Linked DNA regions of Homo sapiens: region 2 is linked to region 1. Evidence: promoter capture Hi-C in human tissues and cell types (Jung and others, 2019). All regions are on one chromosome and are shown on one strand. Each heading gives the region's core, a stretch centred on a gene start or on the middle of the fragment in contact. The rest is flanking DNA. Distances are from core to core; before and after follow the strand shown. Region 1 holds the start of PITX3 (paired like homeodomain 3). Region 2 overlaps SFXN2 (sideroflexin 2).

What was found. Contacts are between HindIII fragments. The study calls those that stand out against the background at their distance.
Region 2: a fragment that was not itself captured here is called in contact with the fragment with the promoter of PITX3 in region 1 in 1 of the 25 tissues and cell types used here (hippocampus).

What each region holds. Positions count from the first base shown.
Region 1 is chr10:102,236,482-102,243,813 of GRCh38, forward strand. PITX3 (paired like homeodomain 3) reads right to left here and starts at 5,031. Exons shown (of 4, transcript NM_005029.4): 1 at 4,852-5,031. It also overlaps a transcript of GBF1 not described here. RefSeq lists a silencer at 4,893-5,182. The HindIII fragment of the contact is 21,724 bases long and covers 1-7,332 here.
Region 2 is chr10:102,717,562-102,724,690 of GRCh38, forward strand. The region is part of intron 1 of SFXN2 (sideroflexin 2); the gene reads left to right. Among named protein-coding and RNA genes, the nearest start is that of SFXN2, 6.5 kb to the left of the region's middle. The HindIII fragment of the contact is 7,636 bases long and covers 988-7,129 here.

The DNA of each region.
Region 1 (7,332 bases), core at 3,781-6,280:
CCAGGCCCAGGGAGTACAGAGGGCCTACAGGTATGCTCTGATTCTGTAGTACAGGCTGGAATTACAGGAAGCCTGGTCATGGACTGCAGCAAGAATGAAATATCCAGGACATATGAAGGTGGAGAGCAGATCCCAGGCCAGGGAGGCCACAGTGGGGAGGCCATGGTTTCCAAGAGACACAACCCCATGGCAATAAGTCAGCTGTCATGTGGACCCACTTAAGTCCTGAAGCCAGAGAGGTAGACCAGGGACATAGTGAGAGCCCACAATCGGTTGCAATAATAATGCCTGAGGCTGGAGGCATAACCTGGAACTCAAATAGGAGAAAACCTTTCTCATTCAGGGGCTAAATGGAGAGATGAGAGGAGCTGGAGTTGTGATGTTTTCATCTTATAAACATGAAACTGAAGTGAGGTCCTTAAGTGGACATGGCTGCATGTTCATTAGGGACGCTGAGCACCCAGACTCTATGGTTTGCTGAACTGCAGTGTGCAAATGGGAGCAAATCGAGACACATTTGCAGCAAAGATTTGAAGCACTCAAGTTATTAAGGGACGATTCGGGGATCAGAGAAATGACTCCACAGTCTTCCTGCTCTTCCTTGCTTCCTTCCTTCAGCAAGTATTAGGTGTTAAGAGGGATCCCAAGAACAGTAAGGCAGAGACCCTATCTTGTAGGAGTCTGCAGTGTAGGGAGGCAAACAGAGCACAGGATGGAAAGATGGACCGCATGGGTCTGACTCCCAGACTGTGGGAGATCAGAGAGAGGGAAGCCCATGGAAGGTGGTACCGAGTGTTGGGAGCTCAGAGAATATAGGCACGTGACTGAATTGGGAGTTCAAGAGGAAGAGAAGGGGTATGGCATTCTAAATAATCAGCAGTGTTGGGAATAAGCTGGCAGGCTGGGAGGGCAGTGGTGAGCCTAGGTTAGTCAGAGTCTCAGTGTAGGCCACGGGAGATCTGCAGAGAGAAACGAGTCAAACCGAGGGGGCCTCCAATGGGGGACAAGGGGCAGTGGTTCAGATTTGACAAAGTCTAGGCTACAGTATGTCCAGCTTTTTCATCAAAAACCGCTAAGATTCACACTGAGCAACAGCCCTGAATAAAGAAAAAAACCCTAAGACCAGTCAAAAACAACATCTACTAGAAAACAGAAGCATGACCTGAAACAGCTGCCACTAGTATGAAATTGTTTTGAGGTCACCAGCTTTATGTTAAAAATGCAAACAAATTTTTCGTTCTATTCCATACTTTAGTCATGGATTATAAAATATTTTAATATAAAAATAAAGCTTTTTTTAATATAAAACCCCCCAATCTTCAAGTGATATCACCACACCAGGAAGATGGGCCCTGTTTAGACTGTGTGTCATGCCTCCTCCACTCCCGTACTGCCCTCCTCCCCCGCCCACCCCACTATGAGAAGCAATGCACCAAGCAGTAGGGGTCACTGGAGGCTTGTATCCAGGGGTGTGACAAAAAACAGCATCTTTGTGACCTTTATTTGACCATGGTGAGCATAAAGGGTTGGGCAGGGAAGAAATAGGAAAGGAGAAACTATTAACTGAAAGGTGTAAAAAAGGCCCCGGGGCAGGACAATGGGAAAGGAGAGATAGAGTTTTGAAAGTTATTCCTCTCTGTCTTCCCCCAACTCTTACCCCACTGATGATCTTTTCCTTTTCCTCCCCATCATTCTTTTCATGAGTCCCTGGCAGTGGCCATGGACACCCTAGACACCCCAAAGCTCAGGACCTAATGGATCCTTCAGGTTAGTCTAGGAGGCATCATTTAGTGTGAATGGAGAAGAAAAGATTCTACTGGCCCCATCCTTCAGTCACCACAAGTCAGCTCTAGCCTGCTGCGTTTGCCCTCCCGTCCTGAACCTGAGTCCTGGGCCAATGTTCCCATCCCTGAGCAGGAGGCAGGCAGAGATATTTGGCCTGGTAGACAGGCTGAGCATTTGGGGAGCTCCCCAGAGTTCTCAGACAGCGGCAGGGGTAGTGGCCAGCATCTGAAGTCCACGATAGGGTGGCCCGTCTGTCATTAAGATCCCTCCTATGGCTGCATCAGGGATGAGATTAGGCTGCTCTAAGTCTCAGCCCCACTTTTCCAAACAAAGATTCTGCAGCTTGGGCATAATAATAGCAGTGCTTCTTATTTATATGATGCTCCTCCATTTGCAGAGGGCCTTCACAGACATAATTTCATTTAACTCGCACAACTGCCCTGCATGGCTGGAGTGCCTATCCCCATTACACCTCTAAGAAGGCAGGATGCAAGGTTACACAGTTTGAAGAGATTTGAAGAGATTCAAACCATCTAGTTCTGCTCTTTCCATGCCTCACTCCCTCCACCCTGTAGCCATTTGTGACTCTGACATGTGCTGATCCTTCCAAACCCTGAAGGATTCCATTTCTACTTCCTGCCTCTATCATCTCTCTGGAAATGAGCTCTGGAAGTATGCTGCCCACTGTGTGCCAAAGAACATTTTTCTATTCATCCTGAGCTTGCATCACTCCAGTTCTAAAAGGCCCCCTCATCTCCAGTTTCAAGATTTGGGGAGCAAGCAATTCTTCTGCATATCTAGGTCTTTTATTATGCTGTAGATTTCCATCCTGTCTCACCTTCCAGAGGACTAAACTTTGAAATTTGCCCTCACCAGCAACCCCTGGCTCCCCATTCTGCCAATCATTCTCTGACCCTACTCTAGGCCCATGACATTCTTCCTAAGAGCCAGTGACCAGGCATGCGTTCAGTTACAAGGCTTTATGCAAGGGTGGGAAAAGGTTCTGTCTTTTGTTTCCAATCACCTTCATTATGATACCACCTCTTTGGCCTTTTTGGCAAAAGCCAACTTTGAGCTAAAGTCTTCAGGGAACCATCTGTAATGCTTTCCCTGTTCCTTTCCTGACACAGAGTCCTTCATTTCACCTATAATTTCAGTGATTTTATGGGAGCACAGCAATGGGAGCACAAGCCCCTGAAAAGTGTATCAGAATGTGATGGGGATAATTGTGGTGTGTCTTTATATTGATCAAAATAGGGCAAATGAAAAACAAAAGTTGAGAATCCTAGCCAGTAATAAGCAAACTTTAGAACTGAGGAATGGACATGGGAGTATGGGGAATACGTATTGTATGTCACTCACAGGTGAAGGGTAAGAAAGGTTGAAACCACTGTTTAGATTACTCATTGCTAAATACAATGCCTTGCACTTGTCCTTGTGAAAACTCAGTCCCCAGCTGGGCTATCTTGCTCACTTATATGGACTCGTTCTCCCTGTTCTGTCCTCTTCAGCATAATTGAGCTGTGGTTAGAATTGGGGTCAGGGTGGATGGTCACTGTATGGGCCCAGCAGAGTCAGGGCTGTATCCCAGCTGCAGGGAAAGTAAACCCGGCTGTTAGGTAGGGCCAAGATATCCTTCCCAACCAGACTGAGAGGGCCAGATAGCCCCCTGTTGGACTCCAGAGTCTGGATTCCATGAGCCTCCTTCCCACCTCCGCTCAGCCACCAGGGTGGTGTTGGGACTGGTAGGGCTGAGGAAGAAAAAGGGAAACAGGACCACAGGATTTGCTTTGCTAATGGGGCTGTAGTTTTCTCTTCTGGCCTGGGCTCCTGCCCACTGTAGGGAAGGAGCCATTGGTCGCCTGATACTCCAGCAAGGAGTCTGGGGGGTGTCTGGTTAATTGTATTGGAATTAGGGGGCAACTGAGGCTGCCAGGGGCTTGTACCCAGCTCCTTCCTGTTTTCCCATTGCCTTTTGTCACCTATTCCTTCCTTTCCTGGTCTTGATTCCCACTAGCAGGCTCCTCATTGGCCTTCTGTCCTCAAATTTGGATTCTGGAAGTACAGAGTGATGCTCTGATCTATTCTGAATTGAAGGGGGCATGTGTCCCAGCCCACCTCACCCCAAGGCCAGGTTGTAGCCTTTACTCTCGCTCCCTGCTCACAGCTTCGCAGCCCGAAGGAGCTGAAACAAGTTTGCAAAGTGTGAGCTGGGATTTGAGGTGACCCACCGCAGCCGACCCCATCGCACACGCAGCAGCTGGGCAGGCGCTGCTGGGTAGACGGACATGCCACCCAGCCAGGGACATTCTGTCCGCCACTGCCAGACACAACTCCCGCTCCGGAGAGACCCACTTCGCTACCCGGACATTCTGTCCGCTCCGAGCCCCATGCACCGCGGACATTCTGTCCGATTCTGAGGCGGCCTCAAGTCAGGACCCTTCTGGGCCCAGACACCCCAAGCCAGATCCACTATACCCGCCGCCTGGTCACTCTGATCCGCACAGCGGCCATCTGACTCAGTCGCGGCCGGGCTCTCACAACACAGCTCCTATTCCAACTGCGGAGCAGCTGGGAAGAGAAGCGTGTGCGACCAGGCGCACCCCGGCTCCCAGCCCCAGGAGTCTGAGCCTAGGCCGAGGGGCATCGGGCGCCGTCAACTGCCCCCACACTGGGGGCCGCCCCGCCAGCTCCCCCGCTGGCCAGGGCCTCTGTAACCCCTTTCGCTCCCTGGCCGCCTGCCCCGTGCCCTGGGATTCCAGGGCGCTTTCTGGTAATGGTTTCCAGACTCCCTACTCCCTGCCTCGCGAAGCCCCTATCCTGGTTTCAAGTCTCCGGCTTCGTTCCGGATCCTCTGAGTCTCCCCCTTCCCTATCCCCTGGTTCTTACCCTGAGTTTCCCTTTTCCCAAGTCCTGGCCCCAGGTCTGCAGTCCGCCCTCCCATTCTCGACCTGTTCCCAAGGCACCGGAGTTCAGCTGCCCCAGGTCTCGTTTTAGGGATTCCAAGGTCCAGCAATAGCTCCTCGGCCCCATGAGCCCCTGTCCTTAGAATGGTCAAACACTCACAGTGCGTCCTGCAACAGGCAGACTCCCAGTAGCGGCGGCTGCGGCGGCGATCTAGAGGGCAGGCAGGGGCCAGGGGCCGGGCACCCGGCCGGAGTGGGGGCCGCCCCCCTGCTCCCGGGCCGCCTCTCCGCTCGGGCGCTCCTGGACTCTCGGAGGGAGTGAGCCTCACCGCGTACTGCCACCCCCAGCCGGCGCCCATTCACTTTATGGCAGACCAGGGCGCCCCCAGCCCGCCGCGGCGAGCCGCGCGCGTCAGGCCCCGCCCCTTTCCAGCTGCCCTGCTGGGGCTCCGCCCTTTCCAGCTGTGGATCTCCAGGCCCCGCCTTTGAGGGAGGGGTCTGGCCGGCGAGACGCCAAGAACCCCGCCCTCTGGCCAATCAGAAGCGCTCTTCAGCAACTCGGCCGCGCCCCTCCCCACGTGGCAGAGACCGCGCTCCGGCTAGGACGCTTAGGCAGAGCCAAGTGGGCGAGAGTAGAGTGGTCCCGGTAGCCACGGGTAAAAGGGATCGGCTGGCAGCGAAGTGGGTTGGGCCGCTACCCCGAGGAAAGTGGATCGGCGCCAGGTGGGAAGGCGCACGGGGCCGCCGGGTCTCAGCGCTCAGACTTCTCTGCCACTCAAGTTTCGCCGATTTTCTCCACTTGTCGCTGTCCGTCTCTCCTCCCTTTTGTCTCTGTTCCAATCCTCCCACGTCTCGCCTTTCTTTCCTCTTCTTTCTCCTCAGCCGCTTCGCTCCTGCTGTTTACCATTCTCCTTCCTCTGCCACTTTAAAAGACTCATTTCTCTTTCTCTCTGCTCCTCTTTCCTCATATCTTTCCTCTTCTTCATTTCCCCCTTCTTCTCCAAGGAAGGTGACTTCGTGGAGACAGCAGGGTTTGGAATGATACAAACCAAAGTAGTATTCCAACGCTGCCACGAACTGCACCATCACTGAGTGAACTTGGACGAGTAACTATCATCTCCCTCCCCGCGCAAAACAATTAAGAGGAGGTTCCTGCTGGATCTCAGGGCTTGGGCTGGGCACTCCAAAGGCATTGCCTTTCAGTCTGTACCCTTGTCTTGCTTAGGCTGTGCTCTCCCTCCTTCAGCAGGGCTGGTTTCCCGCTGGTGGTACCAGGTTAAGTCCTGTGGGCAAGGTGTGGCCTTGGTGCCTGCTGGTTAGGAATTTGCAAGGGACAGGACAGATGACCAAGGAACATCCTGGCAGACTGTGACTTCGGCCCTCTCTGACTTAGGCCTCAATTTCCAGGAAACAGGCTCCTTCTCTTCTCCCAGTTAGGCTATGTTGCTTGGGTGCTCCGAAGAGCCTAAGCCCAGGCCAAACACTGTGGCTCATGCCTGTAATCCCAGCACTTTGGGAGGCCGAGGCGGGCGGATCACAAGGTCAGGAGATTGAGACCACCCTGGCTAACACGGTGAAACCCCATCTCTACTAAAAAATACAAAAAATTAGCCGGGCTTGGTGGCGGGTGCCTGTAGTCTCAGCTACTGGGGAGGCTGAGGAAGAAGAATGGCGTGAACCCAGGAGGCAGAGCTTGCAGTGAGCTGAGATCGCGCCACTGCACTCCAGACTGGGCGACAGAGCAAGACTCTGTCTCAAAAAAAAAAAAAAAAAAGAGCCTAAGCCCAGTCACACAATATGCCCCTAAGGCAAATCTGAGCAGTCATGTCTTGACTGTTCAGTGACTCCCATTGCCCTTAGGATAAAGGTCAAGCTCCCTAGCCTGGCATACAAGACCTTCAGGACCTGACCTTGTCTTCATCTCCAATTTCCTAGTAGTGTCCTGCACACCTCTGGCCCTTCCTGTGAAAGTAACCCATCTTTATATTGTCAATTCCTACTCCTCCAATGTTCCACTCAAGTCTTATTTTCTCTGGGAAGCCTTTTCTGAACTCTCAGTTTAGCCCCTTGCTCTCATGACCCTCAGTGTATACCTTCTATTACACCACCCACCATATTGAAGGGATCAGCTTATGTGTTGTCTGCTATGATAATAAAATTTAGGAGGGTAAGGACCATGTCTGTTATTCCCAGGCATAATGTAGAATCTCAATAAATGTCACACTGAAATCTATGAGGAAGATGTTCTGCCTGGTAAGATGATGATTAGTGGTTAGGAGGGACTAGGGAATTGTCATCTCTCTCCTCCCCATCTCTATTGCACAATCACATGCTTTTAGAATGATGAATTTCTGGAGGTATGTAGAAGTAGATATTGGCGAGCAGAAATTTTTGGCCCACTTAGAGGATTTTCCAATCGGCTTTCCAGGACCTCTCAATCTGAGACAGGCCCAGGACACCAACTCTCAGTTTTCAAATGAAGAGGAAAATGGCTTTGAGGTAATGTGGAAAGAGGTGCTATGATGGTATATCCTCTTTCCCTGACTCTCTTTGGGTGATAGAGGCTAGATCCTCAGCTGGACCCACCGACCAGAAGCCCAATGTGCAGGTGTAGGAAGTTACTGAGGGGTTCTTCACGTCT
Region 2 (7,129 bases), core at 3,556-6,055, 480 kb after region 1:
GGGAAGACTAGATGTGGCTTGTGTGGGAGGAGGGACAGTAACTGTAGAAGAAAATTTAGAGACCAGTATGACTTAGTACAGGCAAGGTAGACAGTTTTGCAACTTCATGAAAGAAAGCGTGCTCTTAATTCTGTAACCTAGGCAGGTTCTAAGTTTGACTTAAAAGAGGTGACATCCTTGATGCCAAGAGACCCAAGAAGAAGTTGGAATGCATTTCAGGTAAGCAGTAAATATTCTTCGAGGGCATGTGAAACATGTAGCAGTAAACATCACAGACATGATCCCGATGCTTGTGAGCCTTACAGTCTGTCAGGGGAGGCAGACTTTACACAAATCACAGTCAATGACAAGAAGGTGACAATCACAAACGCCCAGCATGCTGCAAAGGACAGGATGCTGTAGGAGTATATATCACAGAAGGATTTGAGTTTGTCCTGAAGGAGTCGGGGAAGAGTGCCCATTGGGGGACAGTGGGTGTGTGGGGGGAAATGTTCCAGACAGATCGTTTAGTGTTTTTTTTGTTTTGTTTTTGTTTTGGCTTTATGTTTTATTTAAGACAGGGACTCTGCAGTTTCTATCCTGACTTCAATTAAGAAGGCAAAGGCTCTTGCATAATTAGCAAATGTTTAGATTACCCCTTGATGATAGTCCCTCCATTCTGAGAAGCAGAGGACTTTGCAATGTTGTGTTAAGGTGAACAGAGATGTCAGAGAAGGTCTGGCTCTGTGTGTATGTGTGTGCTGAGGGGGAGGCATAGCATTTTGCTCAGTCAGGCTGTCTCCAGCATGTATGAGCCTGGGGCTCTGTAAGCCAAGGCAGCGTGTGTTCAGCCAGCCAAGCTGACTCCTTTTAGGTTCATGTAGAGCATGGGAAAGTGAACTCTTTCCCCTCCTCCCACTCTTGCTTCAGCTGGGACTGAGATAAATGCCTTTGGTCTTTGAAGCAGCCTGCAGGAGGCCAGGTGGCAGGGAGAGGGGAAGTCTGTTTTGGCAGTGGACTCTTTCTGTCTGCCTTCTGACTTCTCTGGAGATTGCCGCTTCAGAGAAGCATCGGGGCCAGGCCAGGGCGCTGTGGATACTCCATATTGAGCCTCTCCTCTTGTTCCTGGTCTTTCCTCTTAGGAAATGGCGTACCTCCAGCATATCAGCTTCCTGATGTCTCTTCCGCCTTAACGAAAAATCTAAAAATTGACCACTGCTCTTCCTTCCCCAACACTGTCCCTTCTGCCTCCTTTCTTGAACTTGAACTCCTGGCCTCCCAAAGTGCTGGGATTACAGGCCTGTGCCTGTCTCCACCTCCTTTCTCTCTTCTTTCTGGTGGTTCTTCCCATCTTTGGGGGCTTCCTTTTCTCGGCTTCTTTTTTTTTTTTTTTTTTTTTTTTGAGACAGGGTCTTGCTATGTTGCCAAGATGGAGTGCAGTGGCGCCATCTCGGCTCGCTGCAACCTTCACCTCCCGGGTTCAAGTGATTCTCCTGCCTCAGCCTCCCAAGTAGCTGGGATTACAGGCGCCTGCCACCACGCCCGGCTAATTTTTTGTATTTTTAGTAGAGACAGGGTTTCACCATGTTAGCCAGGCTGGTCTCAAACTCCTGACCTCGTGATCCGCCCGCCTCAGCCTTCCAAAGCACTGGGGTTACAGGCATGAGCCACCGTGCCCGGCCTCAGCTTCTTTTTTTTTGAGACAGAGTCTCACTCTGTTGCCCAGGCTGGAGTACAGTGGCACAATCTCGGCTCACTGCAACCTCCGCCTCCTGGGTTCAATCAATTCTTGTGCCTCAGCCTCCTGAATAGCTAGGATGATAGGTGCCTGCCACCACGCCCAGCTAATTTTTGTATTTTTTTTTTTTATTAGAGATGGGGTTTCACCATCTTGGCCAGCCTGGTCTCAAACCCCTGACCTCAGGTGATCCACCCGCCTCGGCCTCCCAAAGTGCTGGGATTACAGGTGTGAGCCACTGTGCCCGGCCTTGGCTTCTTAAATGTCCTGATTTTTCAGGGTTTGTCCTCAGCTCTCTCCTCTTCCCATTCTGTGTGTTCTCACTGGAAAACTTTATCGTAAATCACCTCGATGCTGCTGACTCAGTTTTTTCCTTCTAGCTCTGACCTCTGTTTCCTTTCAAGCCTGAATACCCACAGGCTGATGAACTTCTTATTCAGCAAATACTTGAATATTGTGCTAGGCACTGGGGTGACAGTCGTGAGCAAAATGAACATACCACCTCACTTCACAGGTGAATTATTTAACTTAGCTAAGGTGCTATTTCCAAGAAAAAAACAAAATGACCTAGTAGTAGAAGCTATAGAAGTAAATCTGAAAATTATTTGTACAAAAAAATAAAAGGACAAATAGGTACTATTTAGTGAAGAGAGGAAAGACTAGCTTTTGAGTATTGTGTTTGGAAAGGACCTGAGACAGGAAGAGGCCTATTGCATTTAAGAAAATCCCGGCCGGGCTTGGTGGCTCACGCCTGTAATCCCAACACTTGGGGAGGCCGACGCGGGTAATGGGTCACGAGGTCAGGAGATCGAGACCATCCTGGCTAACACGGTGAAACCGCGTCTCTACTAAAAATACAAACAATTAGCTGGGTGTGGTGGCACGCACCTGTAATCCCAGCTACTCAGGAGGCTGAGGCAGGAGAATTGCTTGAACCCAGGAGGTGGACGTTGCAGTGAGCCGAGATCGCACCACTGCACTCCAGTCTGGGTGACAGAGCAAGACTCCCTCTCAAAAAAAAAAAAAAAAAAAAAAAAAACCCATGGCAGGACCGGGGCTGGTAGCTCACTCCTGTAATCCCAGCACTTTGGGAGGCTGAGGCAGGTAGATCCCTTGAGCTCAGGAGTTGAGACCAGCCTAGCAACATAGGGAGACCCTGTCTCTACAAAAAATACAAAAACTAGCCGGGCATGTTGGCACATGCCTGTGGTCCCAGCTACTTGAGAGGCTAAGGTCAGAGGATCGTTTGAGCCTGGGAGGTGGAGGCTGGAGTAGTGAGCCATGATCATACCACTGTACTCCCACCTGGGCAACAGAGCAAGACCCTGTCTCAAAAAAAAAAAAAAATCCCATGGTATTTGAAACTTAACATGCAGAAATCAAGCTTACTATTAATATTTTCTCCCTCAAAGCCAATTTTTCTGTGCTCTCCCTGTTAGCACCTATCGCCCAAGTCAGAAACCCTAGGTATCACTCTGGATATTTGTCATGTGTCAACTTGGCTAAGCTAAGCAAGACTCCCGGGATTCCCTCTCTGGTATATTCCAGTTATAGTGGCTACCCAGGAGCACACACACACCATCTTCCAGCTCTTCAGACAAACAGTAATCTAGGTGCTGCTGTGAGGGGATTTTGCAGACCTAATTAAATTCCTCAATTGTTTGGCTTTAAGTTAATCAAAAGGGAGATTATCCTGGGTGGCCTGACCTAATCAGGTGGAAGCCCTTTAAAGGAGGGCTAGAACACCCCTGAACCCCCTCTGAGGTTCTGGACTCTGAGCCATTACCCGCGTTGCTCCCTCTCCCCTGGGATGGTCTGTTGCTGGCCGCCTGCCCTGCTGACTTCAGGATTGCCTAGCCAACAGCCACAGTTATGTGAGCCAATTCGCTAATTCCTTGTGATAAATCAATTTCTATATTTTATCAATATTATATTACGTCAGCATTATATATATTTAGGCCAGGAGTGGTGCATGCCTGTAATCCCAGCACTTAGGGAGGATGAGATGGGAGGATTCCTTGAGCCCAGGAGTTTGAGATTACAGTGAGCTATGATTGCACCACTCCACTCTACCCTGGGCAACCAGCTGAGACCCTGCCTAAAAAAAGAAGAAAAAATTATAAAATCTATATAGATAGATCAACATATATTTATAACATATAAAGTTATATATTTATATATGATTTTATATAGCTATATGAATTATTTATGTTTATATATTATTTTTATATGTTATATTTAAACGTAATTCATGTCTATATAAATAAATGTATATATAAATTTATATATTATAAATATATGTTGCTATATCTATAAATTTAAAAAATTATATATTTATATAGTTATATAATTTATATATTTAGAAAATATATATTATAGTATACAAATATATTTTAGAAATATATAAAATATGTATATGTGTGTGTCATAGCCAGGTGCAGTGGCACACACCTGTAATCCTGGCACTTTGGGAGGCCAAGGCAGGCAGATTGCTTGAGCTCAGGAGTTAGAGGAACTCCATGTTGCCCCATGTTATGTTTTGGTATCTACCTGTCTGTCTGTCTGTAATCTACTGATTCTGCTTCTCTGGTTGAACCTTGACTGATAAAATGTTCCTCTTATACCTATTGCTTAGCAGACCTTAACATTCCGCTTCTTTGAAAGATTCTCTCCTGTTGGTCTCTCCTCTGAGTGCACGTGGGTTCATTTGAGCCCTACCTCTTCTTGCCTGGATTACTGGGGTTCTCGTCCAGCTGGTCTCCCTGCATCCCGTGAGGTCCATCCACATCCTGTTTATTCTCATGACTACCCAGTTTGTTCTTAGTAAACTACATATCTGATCTTGTCACTCTTCTTCTTAAAGTCTTTCAATGACTCCCTGAAGCTTTCAGGCAAACATTTAAAAGCGTCAGCTTTTTTTGTATGACTCCATTTTCTCTCCTCTCTTAGCATATCAATTATACTTCTTTTGAAAACCTTTTTAGTGGTTGCCCAGGAGTCTGCAATGTACATTTATGACTAATCCAAATCCACTTTCAAATAACACTATACCACTGCATGGAGTGTGCAAGTACCTTAGAATGGAGTCCTCCCAATTCTCCCCTCCTGTCCTTGATATTACTGCTGTCATGGATTTCTCTGATCCATAAACTGTAATCACCAAATACATTGTTGCTACTATTGTTTTAAACAAACGTATCTGTTTGTTAACTGTTAACAGTTCAGAATAAGAGAAATAAAGATTTTTATTTGTTTGTTTGTTAGTGTTTTTTCCCAGACAGGGTCTCACTCTGTCGTGCAGGCTGGAGTGCAGTGGCACGATCACAGTTCACTGCAGGCTTAGCCTTAGCCTCCCAGACTCAAGCAGTCCCCGCACCTCAGCCTCCCAAGTAGCTGGGACCACAGGCACATGCAACCACGCCTGGCTATGTTTTTTTCTTTTTTAATTTTTATAGAGACAGGGTCTCACTCTGTTGCCCAGACTGGTCTCAAACTCCTGGGCTCAAGCGATGCTCCTGCCTTGGCCTGCCAAAGTGCTGGGATTATAGGTGTGAACCATCCCACCTGACCAGAAGAACTTCTTTTAACATCTTGTAAGTCAGGTCTGCCAGTGACAAATTTCCTGTTTTGTTTGTCCAAGAAAGTCCTTTTTTTTTTTTTTTTTTTTTTTTGAGACAGGGTCTTACTCTGTCACCCAGGCTGGAGTGCAGTGGCTTGATCTTGGCTCACTGCAGCCTCCGCCTCCTGGGCTCAAGCATTCCTCCCACATCAGCCTCCCCAGTAGCTGGGACTGCAGGTGTGCACCACCACACCTGGCTAATTTTTCTATTTTTTGGTAGAAAAAAAAATACAAAATGAGGTTTCACCATGTTGGCCAGGCTGGTCTCAAACTTTTGACCTCAGGTGGTCCACCGGCCTTGGCCTCCAAAGTGCTGAGATTACAGATGTGAGCTACCATGCCTGGCCGACTAGAAAGTTTTGTTTTTTTTTTTTGACAGAGTCTCACTCTGTCACCCAGGCTTGAGTGCAGTGGCGTGATCTCGGCTCACTGCAACCTCTGCTGCCCAGGTACAAGCGATTCTCCTGCCTCAGCCTCCCGAATTGCTGAGATAACGGGCACCTGCCACTGCGCCCGGCTAATTTTTGTATTTTTAGTAGAGATGGGGTTTCACCGTCTTGGTCAGGCTGGTCTCAAACTCCCGACCTCAGGTGATCCAACCGCCTCGGCCTCCCAAAGTGTTGGGATTACAGGTGTGAGCCACTGCGCCTGGCCCCAACTAGAAATGTTTTAAGGGATATAAAGCAGTTAGTACTTGAGATGATTCTTCTGTAAGATATGGGATAGGTGGAAATGGGTAACGACTAACAGAATCAGATGGTATGCATCCCCAAATAGTAATTCCAATGATCTAGGAAGACCAACATTCCCACACCATCCCTACCACCACAGACTCAGTGTTTCTCAATGAGAGACAGAATTTGTGTATGGAGGATCTGAGTCCAAGCCCTTCTATTAGTATAATTGCATTAATATTATTTGTTTCTTTTTTTTGTTTTAACTTTTACTTTAGATTCAGGGGTACACGTGCAGGTTTGTTACATAGGTAAACTTGTGTCACTGGGGTTGTACAGATTGTTTCATCACCCAGCTACTAAGTTTAGTACCCATTAGTTATTTTTTCTGATCCTCTCCCTCCTCCCACCCTTCACCCTCAAGTGAGCCCCAGTGGGGTCTGTTGCTCCCGTTTTTGTGTCCATGTGTTCTTATCATTTAGCTCCCACTTTTAAGTGAGATATTTGGTTTTCTTACTTATAAATGTGATATTTGGTTTTCTGTTCCTGCATTAGTTTGCTAAGGATAATGGCCTCCATCTTCATCCATGTCCCTGCAAAGGACGTGATCTCGTTCTTTTTTGTGGCTGCATAGTATTCCATGGTGTACATATACCACATTTTCTTTATCCAGTCTGCCATGGATGGGCCTTTTGCATTTGGACAATTTCTACTGACACGTGTTCAGGCTCACTGATTCTTTCCCTGGCCATGTCCAGTCTACTGATGAGTCCATCCAAGACTTTCTTCATCTTTGTTACAGTATTTTTGATTTCCAACATTTCCTTTTGATTCTTTCTTAAGAGTTTCCGGCTGGACGTGGTGGCTCACGCCTGTAATCCCAGCACTTTGGGAGGCCGAGGTGGGCGGATCACGAGGTCAGGAGATCGAGACCATCCTGGCTAACATGGTGAAACCCCATCTCTACTAAAAATACAAAAAATAGCTGGGCATGGTGGTGCACGCCTGTAGTCTCAGCTACTTGGGAGGCTGAGGCAGGAGAACCACTTGAACACGGGAGGCAGAGGTTGAAGTGAGCCGAGATCGTGCCATTGTACTCCAGCCTGGTGGCAGAGCAAG